Regions from separate parts of the Homo sapiens genome. Here region 2 is linked to region 1. Evidence: promoter capture Hi-C in human tissues and cell types (Jung and others, 2019). All regions are on one chromosome and are shown on one strand. Each heading gives the region's core, a stretch centred on a gene start or on the middle of the fragment in contact. The rest is flanking DNA. Distances are from core to core; before and after follow the strand shown. Region 1 holds the start of AKAP3 (A-kinase anchoring protein 3). Region 2 overlaps FGF23 (fibroblast growth factor 23).

Region 1 (6,317 bases), core at 3,818-6,317:
GACATGAGGAAATATACTCCCTACCCTATACAATGTAACTTACCTAAGAAGATAAGTCACATTTTTTAAAAAACATATTAAACAGTCACAAAGTAGGAAAGCATAAGCCTATACGGTAAAAGGAACTGAGAATATGTAATAAATGAGCAATAAATCACATTACCATGAGGAAGTATTCCTGGATAAAATGTTTTGAGAAAGGTCTTAAAAGAGGAAAAAAAAAAGAAAGGACAGAATCCCATGAGGAACACATCACAATGCAGAGGTAGAATGAATAAGCCTACAGCACAGGGCAACAGCAAAAGACTCTCCTGGAACAGAATCTGAAACTGGTGACTAATGAAAAATAAGGTTGATGATACTGGTCGGAAGCAGATGATTATTAGTACAGAACATTAAAAAAAAAAAAAAAGAATGCAGTTCAATAGTTCAGACTTACTATAAAACCACTGAAGAACATCACAAATAATGATAAAAGGAGTGAAGTGCTTGAGAAAAGATATTCTGACTTTTAGAAAGTTTAACAGCAAGAGACTTGTCAAACATTCCACCATTTCTTTTTCATTGACTGAGGTTCTTGGTACTAGAATGAACCCTCAAAGTTCATGTACCAATGCTTACATCTTCTCTACAGCATGTGTGCAAAGAAATCATCTGGCTTTTGCCTGAACACCTGTGGAGTTGGGAAACTCACTACTTCCTGTAGCTGCCCATTCTGCTTTGAGCCATTCTAACAGAAAGAAAGTTCTACCACAAGGGGAATCAGTGACTGCTTCCCAGAAGTTTTTATCCCTGTGTTCCTCCAGAATGACAAAGAACAAGTCTAATCCCTCTTCTACAATTAAGTGTAGCAATTATAGCCCCACTAAATATTTTCTTCTCCAGGTTAAACATTCCCTGTCCTGTCAAATATTCTTCATATGGCAGGAATGAGAATCTCTTTTGGATACATTCCAGTTTTCAAGTTATTGCTAACTCCTTAGAATAGAATTTTAGAGTTAGCTGCTCAACTTTCATGTAAGTAGAAACAAAAAGGTTTAAAGTGCTAACGCACTTCTGCTCCAATCAACAAACTTCGGAGCTTAGCATTCGTGCTTTGTACACTTGGGAGAGGTGAAAGACACAAACAGGACTTTCTTTAGAAAATCTGTGTTTGTTTCTAGGGATGACTTTCAGGTGGCATTCTGCCCAAAGGTCATTGTTCTTCCCTATCCAAAAGTATTGAATTGGAGAAATAGCCTAGCTCACTGATAGTGACAGAAATTAAAAGTAAACATCATGGACCACACATCATAATAACAAAATAATAACATCATATTAACAGCTACCTTTACAGAGCTCTTGGCAGGTGTCCAGCATTATTCTAAGTGCTGCATAGGTATTATCTTTTTTAATGCTATCTTTATCACCACTTTATGGATAAGGTTAGTGACTAGCCCAAAGCACTAGTAAAGGAGATTAAAAAGCAGTCCCATGAGGTAGGAGAAAAACTCAGAAGGAAACAGAATCTAAAAACCCAAAATAAGAAACTGTTTCAAGGAGAGAATGGTTAACTTTACCAAATGCTGAAAGTGAAGTAGGAAGAGGACAGAGGACCACAGAAGCTGGAGGATGTGGCTGTAGGTGGCATAAATAAGAGCAATTTTATTGGATTAGTGGGACTGAAAGCCAGACTGGAGCAAACAAGAGAGGCTGTGAGGCAAGGAAGTAGATGAGGAGTATACACAATCCTTCTGAAAAAGGAGAAATGGAACTAGAGAAAACAAGGACAGGAATAGGTTTGTTTGTTTGTTTTAAATATGAGTTAACATTTATGTGCTGATGGAAATGACATGATTTCCATGGTAGAGGTAGAAAATTACTGATTCAGGAAAGGGAATGAATAGTTGAGAGAGGATAAGATTGAATGCAAAGTGAAGGAACTGGCCACAGATTGGAACAGAAGGAGCTCACCCACTGTAACAAGAGAAAAGGCAAAGAATTATCACATATCAACTATTAGAGTTTATGGTGGGAAAATGACTGTTCTCATCTGATTCCTTTGATTTCTCTGTAAAGCTGAGAATGAGACAAAAGCACATGTTAGAGGTTTTAGGAAACTCGCTATGTTAAGTAATGATTATGGAGACAAGGAAACCAAATTTCCTAGAAAAATGTAGCACTGAAAATCTACTTGAGATTTGTATTCATGAATTTAAAATAAGGCCAGTTAGTCTGAAGTTTTCCCTAGCCCCGTTCTCCATTGCTCAGTGGCAGGCAGCAAATTACGTGGAAAGTTTTGTTTAATCAGGGTCAATGTTTTTTACGACAATGGGAGTTGGGCTGGGGAGTTGAGGATGCATAAAAGGGAATGATAAGAGTGAAGAGTAAGGAAATGAGGACATAGGATAAGACAGGCAAAAGATGGCAGAGTCAATGAACTGGGAAGAATTACTTGAGTTGAGGAATTAATACCTCAAAGGACTGTTAAGAGGATTAAACATACATAAACCACGTAGCACATTACCTAGAGCACATTAAGCATTCTATGAATAATAGTTGCTTTTATTACTTTGAAATTTCTCAGAAGGTAATGTCACACTAACCTCACATGGCTATTGTTTTTTTTTAATAATTATGGGCCAAGAATTATTCTAGAAACTGTGACTATCACAGTAAAATACAAAACCCTGGCTTCATGAAGCTCACAGTTTAAAGGGTTAATGAGAATAACATATGGGCAAGCATCTGTCACAGTGCCTTGCAAATACTAGGTGCTCAATAAATATAAATTATTACTCTCTTTGGTTCCAGCCTCTCCACTTTCTTCCATTTATTATGAGTACTATTAGAAGAATGATATTCTTTATTAATTATATATTCATTATATTTCTCTGCTTAAAAACCTACATTAGTTTCCTACTGCAATACCCAAACCAATAGTCCAGACATATTTGCTTGCACACTGCATTAATTTTTTTAAGTATTTATTTAAAAAATTATATGCACGTTCTATGTAGTACCAATATGATATACACATTATAAATCATACATTACTTAGAATAGTGTGTGGCATACAGTTTAAACTACATAAGTGTTAGCTATTATTACTATAGAAAGCAATTTTTAGGAGTTCTAATTTATATTTCCACAACTTATTAGGTCCTCTTGCACAACTCCCTTTGGAGACTACCGATCTAAACTCTGCTTGGCTTTCAAAGGTCTCCATTGTCTGATCCCATCTAACACATTCAACCTCCTTTTCCACTATCCCAGATATTCAGGTAGTCATTTCACTGCCTCTTGAATACCTCATGACTCCATTCTCACCCACTTGTCTTTGCCAGAGGACTTTCCAGATCATAACAGCCCTAAAGAGACCAGTGGGAGCACTACAATTCTCCACTGGTCTTCCAATCATCCCTCAGTACCTCAAATGATACTAATCTTTCCCTTTTATGATTTCCTGTGATACTTAATAGTCTTGCCACACTTAACTATATATAGTTGTCTTACACAGTTCTGTCCTATAGTGTGTGGATTATGTTACATACTAGACTTGCCTCTACAGAATTTACTCAAAAACTTACTTTACCAGACAATAACGCAGAGTGGTTAAGAACACAAGCTATGGTGTCAGTCAGAGGAAAGTAAGTTAAAAGAGGAAAATTAATAAAAATACCTAGAACTGGAGATTGCAGATAGCAGGTACTCAATAAATAGTGATTACCATTCACAATCTACATTACGTCATACAATTGTAATAGTTTAACAAGAACCAGCAAATGTCTTTGCAAAGACATTGTGACTACAAAACCATCCACTATAAGTGATGTGCACCACCACCTTCCCAGTGGTATGCAGGAGTTCTACCCAAGATGGAAAACAAAAAAAAAAGGATCCTCTAAACACTCCTAATTCTTGCCTCAGGCTGAACATCAAGCCTATCTGTGGTGCTTTTAAAAATTTAAGGTGCAAGGAGCTAATCTCACAAATTCTGACTCAATAGCTCTACACTCAGTCCTCATTTCTAATTTTTATAAAGCTTTACGAGTGATTCTGACATGAGCCAATTTTGAAAGCAAATGATATTCTGTAACGACTAAAATACACTAAGAAAAATACAACTTTGGGGGTTTGATTGGAATATGTTTGTGGAAGAGTAGAGGGTGAAAGGACAATGATGAAGTGTAACCGTATTTCTAATTTCCTTGCTTTTTAGTGAGTGGAAGGACAAATGTATGTTTTCAGTTTGAGGAGTGGGAGCAGATCCAATCAGAACAGAAGAGAAACTAAATAATGCTAACAAATTCTAACATAGCCTTCATTCTTCACTTTCCTTTCCACCAAGCTCCTGATTCTTCTCTCCTCAAACATCACTCTCTCCCCCAGACCCCAACGCACTTTGCCGAACACATTCTACATCCGTAGAGACGCTTTTGGGTAAAAGGATGCTTTTACAAATATTAGCTCATTTAATCTTATCAGAGACTCCCTGGTATTGTAATATTATCATTTCCATTGTGCTCATATGAATTGAGACCCATTAAGGGTTTGCACAAGGTCATAAAATCAATCTAAGAAAACCTCTCGCCACTAGCCTTTTTTCCCTCCCTTACACATTTCTCCCCCCGCCCCATACAAATATTTCTCATAACCCTAAACCCTTACAACCATATCAGAATTCTGATTCTCTCGATCCCTAACGTGTCCCCCGCATTCTCCTCTTCGCTTACAGCTGCTTAAGATCTTTTGTCCCCTCCCAAGGTGGTGCACAATTGAATATGTGAGCCGGGGAAGCGGAAAGCGAAAGGAGAAACCAGACTGAGGCAGCTCCAAACCTAGAGAAACCAGAGTGTGCCTAGGAAGTTGGCGTGACCGCTGCAGCACGGTGCCACTTCCAAAACCTTAAATCCCCGTCTCGGAATCCCGACCAGGGGCCGCCGTTCCCGGTAACACTTACGTGACATTGACAGGACCCGGACAACCCGGGATTGTGCGGCAGCCGCCATCTTTTCCCACAATCCCCCACGACAGCACTCCCGGCTGACTACGGCTGCTAAGCTGGGTCAAAACTTACCTTTCTCGCCTGTCTGCGCAAGCGCTAACCAAGAAACGACGGTTTCGGGTAGATTGTTGGTTAAGAAGAAAGCTGGGAAAGTGAAGGAGAGGGGGAAGAAAGGAAGTGAAAAGACTTTGGCTGTTGGAATCTCAGATCTGGAATAGGCTGTATAGGCTATTTATAATCTCTAATTGCCGAGGAACCTGAAGTTCAGAGTTAACCAGTGACTGACTCAGGACATGCAAAATGGCAAGACCCGAGGTAGAAGAGCTCACCTTTCCTGACTCTCAGTTTCCTGTTCCCTGAAAATGTAAGCTAAGCTGGCAGCCCTGGTGAGTCCGGAGGAAGAAGGAGGCGTAGCCCTCCGCGCTCAGGAGATCCAGGGCCCAGGAGAGAGAAAAGGGGGGACAAGAACGAGGGGAAAAGTGGAGAAGAGAAACCAAAATAGGGTGTGTCCCAAGTAAATAAATGTGCGTCGAGCCCGCCAAGCACATTCTCTCATAGGGACCCTTGCGCCTGCTGTTCGCGTTTCCTGGAATGCACACTCAGGTGTCTGCACCAGCTCAAGTCTCTGCTCAAAAGTGACCTCTTCGGATAAAACTTCTCTGACCATCCTATCCAAGGTGGTAATTATTCCACCAATTTTTGGTTTAAGTTTATATACCAAAGCACTTATCACCAACTAGCATATGAATCTAGGAGTTCTTAACCAGAAGTGTGATTCATGAGTGGGCTTCGGGAAATCTGTGAACTTCCTGAAATATTATGCAAATTTAGTGGCCATGTGTGCCATCTGAACATCTGTCTAAGGAGAAACTGCAGATGGCTCTCTCTAGCGCAATGGCTTGTAATTTTTTCTTTAACTGTGGTCACCTTTGAGAATCTGCATTGTTCTACAAAGAGCCATCTAGAAACTGAGGAAATTCCAGGTTAGACTAAGCGCTTGGATTTTAAAATACTTTATTCTGGTCAACCTCTCCAGATTGCTGGGTAGGAGATGGCAACCAGTGATCCTGTGAAACATACCTTAGGCTTATCAGAAAACCACCTAGTTTGGGGAGGGCGGGTTCTTTCTAGACTTGGTAATCCTTCCAGTGCTTTGTTTTTTCAGGAAAAGTATGTGTTTCTGGGATAGACAAAAAGGCCTGTGATGAGTAGGGATGTAGAAGTTGCTTATTACTAGGCTTGAAATCTTGGCTGTTTCCACTCTATCTTGCCCCTACTGTTTACTGAAGTGTCGCCTAACAAATTGAATTGGAAGAGAGAAAAAAACCTT
Region 2 (6,317 bases), core at 1,296-3,795, 280 kb after region 1:
TTTTTTTTATTATTATACTTTAAGTTTTAGGGTACATGTGCACATTGTGCAGGTTAGTTACATACGTATACATGTGCCATGCTGGTGTGCTGCACCCACTAACTCATCATCTAGCATTAGGTATATCTCCCAATGCTATCCCTCCCCCCTCCCCCCACCCCACAACAGTCCCCAGAGTGTGATGTTCCCCTTCCTGTGTCCATGTGATCTCATTGTTCAATTCCCACCTACGAGTGAGAATATGCGGTGTTTGGTTTTTTGTTCTTGCGATAGTTTACTGAGAATGATGGTTTCCAATTTCATCCATGTCCCTACAAAGGACATGAACTCATCATTTTTTATGGCTGCATAGTATTCCATGGTGTATATGTGCCACATTTTCTTAATCCAGTCTATCATTGTTGGACATTTGGGTTGTGGAACCCACTTTTGAATCTAGCACAGGCCCTGGTATGTAGTCGTAGGTCCTCAAGTCATGTCAATTCACGTTGTAAAGTACATTAGAAAGGGTGAAAAGCCATTGGTGTCTTCTTGATTCTGGGACTAGCTGTGACTTTGGGTAAATCTCCTCACTTCTCCAAACTTCAGCATTTTCACTTGGAAAAAGCGAAGTGGAATAGACCACGTGACCTGTGGAGCTCCCTCCAGTTAAAGATTTTTAATTAATAACCCCTGCCCCAATTGTGATAGCTATTCATTCGGATTGGTAAGCAAAGGATTTCCCAAACTAAAGGCTGCTGGCCTCTTTTGGAGGATTTTGAGATAGTAAAATAGTAGGACTGCTTATCTCAGGAGTCTCTGACCACCACACATGCCCACTAGAAACTCCACAAGAACAGAGACTTTCTGTTTTGCTTTCTGCTGCATCCCAGCCCCTACAATAGTGTCTGGCTAGAGTAGGTAAACAAACAAACAAAAAATCTGTTGAACCACTATTGAAATATAGATAACTAACTAAACATCCGTTAACCCCTCTAGGCATGTAGATAGTCCTGATCTGTAAACTGCTTACTTTGTGGAGCTTGAGGATTAAAAGAAATAACAGGCAAAGGCCTTCGTGGGGCACTCAGTAAAACCCAGTACTAGTGGTAGAGGATTCAAACCCAGCTCATCTGTCAGCAAAGTTCATGTCTCCAATCCCGTCAGTGCTCTCATTCATGTTTGACCCTATAAACTCCATCCCCTCTCCTTTCTCCAGTAAAGAGACAAACCCAAGCCAATTTTCAGCCAGCAGAGGCTTGGAAAAGATAGAGGGCAGGAAGGACAAGGTGGTGCCTACTCCAGGAAAACCACAGGCCAGGCCAGCCCGGGCCTCCAGGCAGTAAGCGGAGGCCCCAGTAGTCGTAGTCTCTGAAAGGGCGAACTATATAGTCAGGGCTTGAGCATTAATCAAAACCACTCTACCCCAGCAGGGAACAAAGGGGTGAAGGCTCAACGCCCTAAGAACTGCAGAGCTTCAGGCCGGCTGGCACAAGCATGTGGCCCCAGGAGGAGCTGGGGAGTGGGTGGGGCCCCCACTGCCAGCCTTCACGTGGTTCGCTCTTGTCCTTCCAGCACTATTTCGACCCGGAGAACTGCAGGTTCCAACACCAGACGCTGGAAAACGGGTACGACGTCTACCACTCTCCTCAGTATCACTTCCTGGTCAGTCTGGGCCGGGCGAAGAGAGCCTTCCTGCCAGGCATGAACCCACCCCCGTACTCCCAGTTCCTGTCCCGGAGGAACGAGATCCCCCTAATTCACTTCAACACCCCCATACCACGGCGGCACACCCGGAGCGCCGAGGACGACTCGGAGCGGGACCCCCTGAACGTGCTGAAGCCCCGGGCCCGGATGACCCCGGCCCCGGCCTCCTGTTCACAGGAGCTCCCGAGCGCCGAGGACAACAGCCCGATGGCCAGTGACCCATTAGGGGTGGTCAGGGGCGGTCGAGTGAACACGCACGCTGGGGGAACGGGCCCGGAAGGCTGCCGCCCCTTCGCCAAGTTCATCTAGGGTCGCTGGAAGGGCACCCTCTTTAACCCATCCCTCAGCAAACGCAGCTCTTCCCAAGGACCAGGTCCCTTGACGTTCCGAGGATGGGAAAGGTGACAGGGGCATGTATGGAATTTGCTGCTTCTCTGGGGTCCCTTCCACAGGAGGTCCTGTGAGAACCAACCTTTGAGGCCCAAGTCATGGGGTTTCACCGCCTTCCTCACTCCATATAGAACACCTTTCCCAATAGGAAACCCCAACAGGTAAACTAGAAATTTCCCCTTCATGAAGGTAGAGAGAAGGGGTCTCTCCCAACATATTTCTCTTCCTTGTGCCTCTCCTCTTTATCACTTTTAAGCATAAAAAAAAAAAAAAAAAAAAAAAAAAAAAAAAGCAGTGGGTTCCTGAGCTCAAGACTTTGAAGGTGTAGGGAAGAGGAAATCGGAGATCCCAGAAGCTTCTCCACTGCCCTATGCATTTATGTTAGATGCCCCGATCCCACTGGCATTTGAGTGTGCAAACCTTGACATTAACAGCTGAATGGGGCAAGTTGATGAAAACACTACTTTCAAGCCTTCGTTCTTCCTTGAGCATCTCTGGGGAAGAGCTGTCAAAAGACTGGTGGTAGGCTGGTGAAAACTTGACAGCTAGACTTGATGCTTGCTGAAATGAGGCAGGAATCATAATAGAAAACTCAGCCTCCCTACAGGGTGAGCACCTTCTGTCTCGCTGTCTCCCTCTGTGCAGCCACAGCCAGAGGGCCCAGAATGGCCCCACTCTGTTCCCAAGCAGTTCATGATACAGCCTCACCTTTTGGCCCCATCTCTGGTTTTTGAAAATTTGGTCTAAGGAATAAATAGCTTTTACACTGGCTCACGAAAATCTGCCCTGCTAGAATTTGCTTTTCAAAATGGAAATAAATTCCAACTCTCCTAAGAGGCATTTAATTAAGGCTCTACTTCCAGGTTGAGTAGGAATCCATTCTGAACAAACTACAAAAATGTGACTGGGAAGGGGGCTTTGAGAGACTGGGACTGCTCTGGGTTAGGTTTTCTGTGGACTGAAAAATCGTGTCCTTTTCTCTAAATGAAGTGGCATCAAGGACTCAGGGGGAAAGAAATCAGGGGACATGTTATAGAAGTTATGAAAAGACAACCACATGGTCAGGCTCTTGTCTGTGGTCTCTAGGGCTCTGCAGCAGCAGTGGCTCTTCGATTAGTTAAAACTCTCCTAGGCTGACACATCTGGGTCTCAATCCCCTTGGAAATTCTTGGTGCATTAAATGAAGCCTTACCCCATTACTGCGGTTCTTCCTGTAAGGGGGCTCCATTTTCCTCCCTCTCTTTAAATGACCACCTAAAGGACAGTATATTAACAAGCAAAGTCGATTCAACAACAGCTTCTTCCCAGTCACTTTTTTTTTTCTCACTGCCATCACATACTAACCTTATACTTTGATCTATTCTTTTTGGTTATGAGAGAAATGTTGGGCAACTGTTTTTACCTGATGGTTTTAAGCTGAACTTGAAGGACTGGTTCCTATTCTGAAACAGTAAAACTATGTATAATAGTATATAGCCATGCATGGCAAATATTTTAATATTTCTGTTTTCATTTCCTGTTGGAAATATTATCCTGCATAATAGCTATTGGAGGCTCCTCAGTGAAAGATCCCAAAAGGATTTTGGTGGAAAACTAGTTGTAATCTCACAAACTCAACACTACCATCAGGGGTTTTCTTTATGGCAAAGCCAAAATAGCTCCTACAATTTCTTATATCCCTCGTCATGTGGCAGTATTTATTTATTTATTTGGAAGTTTGCCTATCCTTCTATATTTATAGATATTTATAAAAATGTAACCCCTTTTTCCTTTCTTCTGTTTAAAATAAAAATAAAATTTATCTCAGCTTCTGTTAGCTTATCCTCTTTGTAGTACTACTTAAAAGCATGTCGGAATATAAGAATAAAAAGGATTATGGGAGGGGAACATTAGGGAAATCCAGAGAAGGCAAAATTGAAAAAAAGATTTTAGAATTTTAAAATTTTCAAAGATTTCTTCCATTCATAAGGAGACTCAATGATTTTAATTGATCTAGACAGAATTATTTAAGTTTTATCAATATTGGATTTCTGGTCATTCTAACCCTAAAGTGTTTTCTTTCTTTCTTTCTTTCTTTTTTTTTTTTTTAAGATGGAGTCTTGCTCTGTCACCCAGGCTGGAGTGCAGTGGCGCGATCTCGGCTCACTGCAACCTCTGCCTCCCAGGTTCAAGCGATTCTCCTGCCTCAGCCTTCCAAGTAGCTGGGATTACAGGCACCTGCCACTGCGCCTGGCTAATTTTTGTAATTTTAGTAGAGACAGGGTTTCACCATCTTGGCCAGGCTGGTCTCGAACTCCTGACCTCGTGATCCACCCACCTCAGACTCCCAAAGTGCTGGGATTACAGGCATGAGCCACCGCACCCAGCCGTGTTTTCTTTAAAGAGGGAATTTTTATTTGGAAAATACACACCATCACAACCACGTCAGTATCTCAGTAAACCAAATGCTATGCACTAAACACATACACAGTGTTACCGTCCCGTGAGATTTGATAGCAGGACACCAAGATAATGAATCTACATTCTGAGACTGGTGTTCCCAGAGTTCCTTCTTTCAGAAGGAACTATGAAAAGGAGAGACTTTACATATGGGCATGAGCATTCACTACAGGTCCTTCGCCAAAGACTGGGTAGCACATGCACGAGGTAAGATACGGTGAGTCCTACAAAGGTCACCTGCTACAGCAGCAGGAGATAGATAGTGAGTGATACCAGATGCTATGCAATGTTGAAACACGTTAGAAATTCAACCACACCTGGGTGAAGAGACCTTACTGAGTGCCTCAGAACTCAAAAGGCTGTTCTTATAAGACTAAGCCCCAGAGGCAGGGGGTATATCCTAAAACTAAATTCAAAACTGAAACAGACTTGCTCTAAGTGAGAATTATACCAATCCTGGCAAACTACAAGGATCTACCAATAATGTAACTGACCGCCAGAAGAGAACTTAACACCTTTTAAAGGAAGAGGACATGATTCAGACTTAATACATGGTATCCTACACAATCAGTAATAGTAAAATAACTGGACATGAGAAGAAATAGGAAAAAAACATGTGCACAATCAAGAGAAAATGCAGTCACTAGAAACTAGTAAGGTGATCTAAAGATAGAGCTAATATAAATTATCTTATCTGAGTAACAGAGAAGAAATAAGTTTTTTGAAAATGAGTAGAACCTCAATGATCTGTGAGACCTTATTAAGCTGTCCAACATATGAGTAAGTTGAGTCCCAGAAGGAAAGGAGCACAAAGAACTGGGGAGTAAAAAATATTTGAAGATATGGTGGCTGAAAATTTCCCAATTATTGGTTAAAAATAAGTGTACTAATACAAGAAGCTCAGAAAACTCCAAGCAAGACAAATGCAAAGATCACAGTTATGTATATTGCAGTCAAACTGTTAAAAATCAAAAATCAACAGAAAATCTGAAAGCTACTGTAGACAAATGACACTTTATATATAGAGGAACAGCTATAATAGTAGTGGATTTCTTCTCATAACCATGGAAACTAGAAGACAATGGAATGATGTATTGAAAAGGTTGAAAGAAAATAAAAAGCTACCTACCCAGAATTACACATACAGCAAAAATGTCCTTCAAAATTAAGATGGAATAAAAATGGAGAGAAATTATTGCCATGCTGAAAAGGAGTAACACCAGATGGACATTTAGAATTACAGAAAGAAAACCATCATTAAATGTGTGAATACATTTAAACTATATATATTGTATACCTTCTTCCCTGATTTCACTAACAGGCTGCTTAAGGCAAAAATTATAACACTGTATGCAGGTTTTGTAACATATATAGATGTAATATATAAGGCAAAACTCCCACATAGGATGGGAGGGATAAATGAAACAATATGGTTACAAGATGATAACACTGTATGTAAAAATCTTACAATATTAACTCTAGACTGTGATAAATTAAGGATGCATATTGTAATCCCCAAAGTGACCACTAAAATACTCACAATAAGAAGTCAGGAGTGGTGATATGCACCTGTAGTCATAGCTACTCAGGAGGCTGAGGCTGGAGAATCACTTGAGCCTGGGAAGCGGAGGTTGCAGTGAGCTATGATCGTGCCACTGCACTTCAACTTGGTGACAGAGTCAGACCCTGTCTCTAAAAACAAAACATTTAAAAATAATAATAATTCAAAGAGGTGTAGGTAAAAAGCCAATAGAGATATTAACATAGGATACTAAAAAAATTCAGTTATTCCAAGGAAGGGA

What was found. The method cuts DNA at HindIII sites, captures the fragments that hold promoters and counts their contacts. A contact is called where the count stands out against the background at its distance.
Region 2: a contact is called between a fragment that was not itself captured here and the fragment with the promoter of AKAP3 in region 1, in 2 of the 25 tissues and cell types used here (H1 embryonic stem cells and mesendoderm cells).

Annotation. Positions count from the first base shown.
Region 1 is chr12:4,647,801-4,654,117 of GRCh38, reverse strand. It overlaps AKAP3 (A-kinase anchoring protein 3), which reads left to right and starts at 5,067. Exons shown (of 6, transcript NM_001278309.2): 1 at 5,067-5,373. It overlaps NDUFA9 (NADH:ubiquinone oxidoreductase subunit A9), which reads right to left and starts at 5,004. Exons shown (of 11, transcript NM_005002.5): 1 at 4,943-5,004. The coding sequence starts at 4,991. RefSeq lists enhancers at 4,579-5,234, 5,103-5,312, 5,593-5,642. The HindIII fragment of the contact is 5,598 bases long and covers 1-5,179 here.
Region 2 is chr12:4,366,021-4,372,337 of GRCh38, reverse strand. FGF23 (fibroblast growth factor 23) reads left to right here. Exons shown (of 3, transcript NM_020638.3): 3 at 1,555-4,111. The coding sequence ends at 1,995. Among named protein-coding and RNA genes, the nearest start is that of FGF23, 11 kb to the left of the region's middle. The HindIII fragment of the contact is 4,544 bases long and covers 274-4,817 here.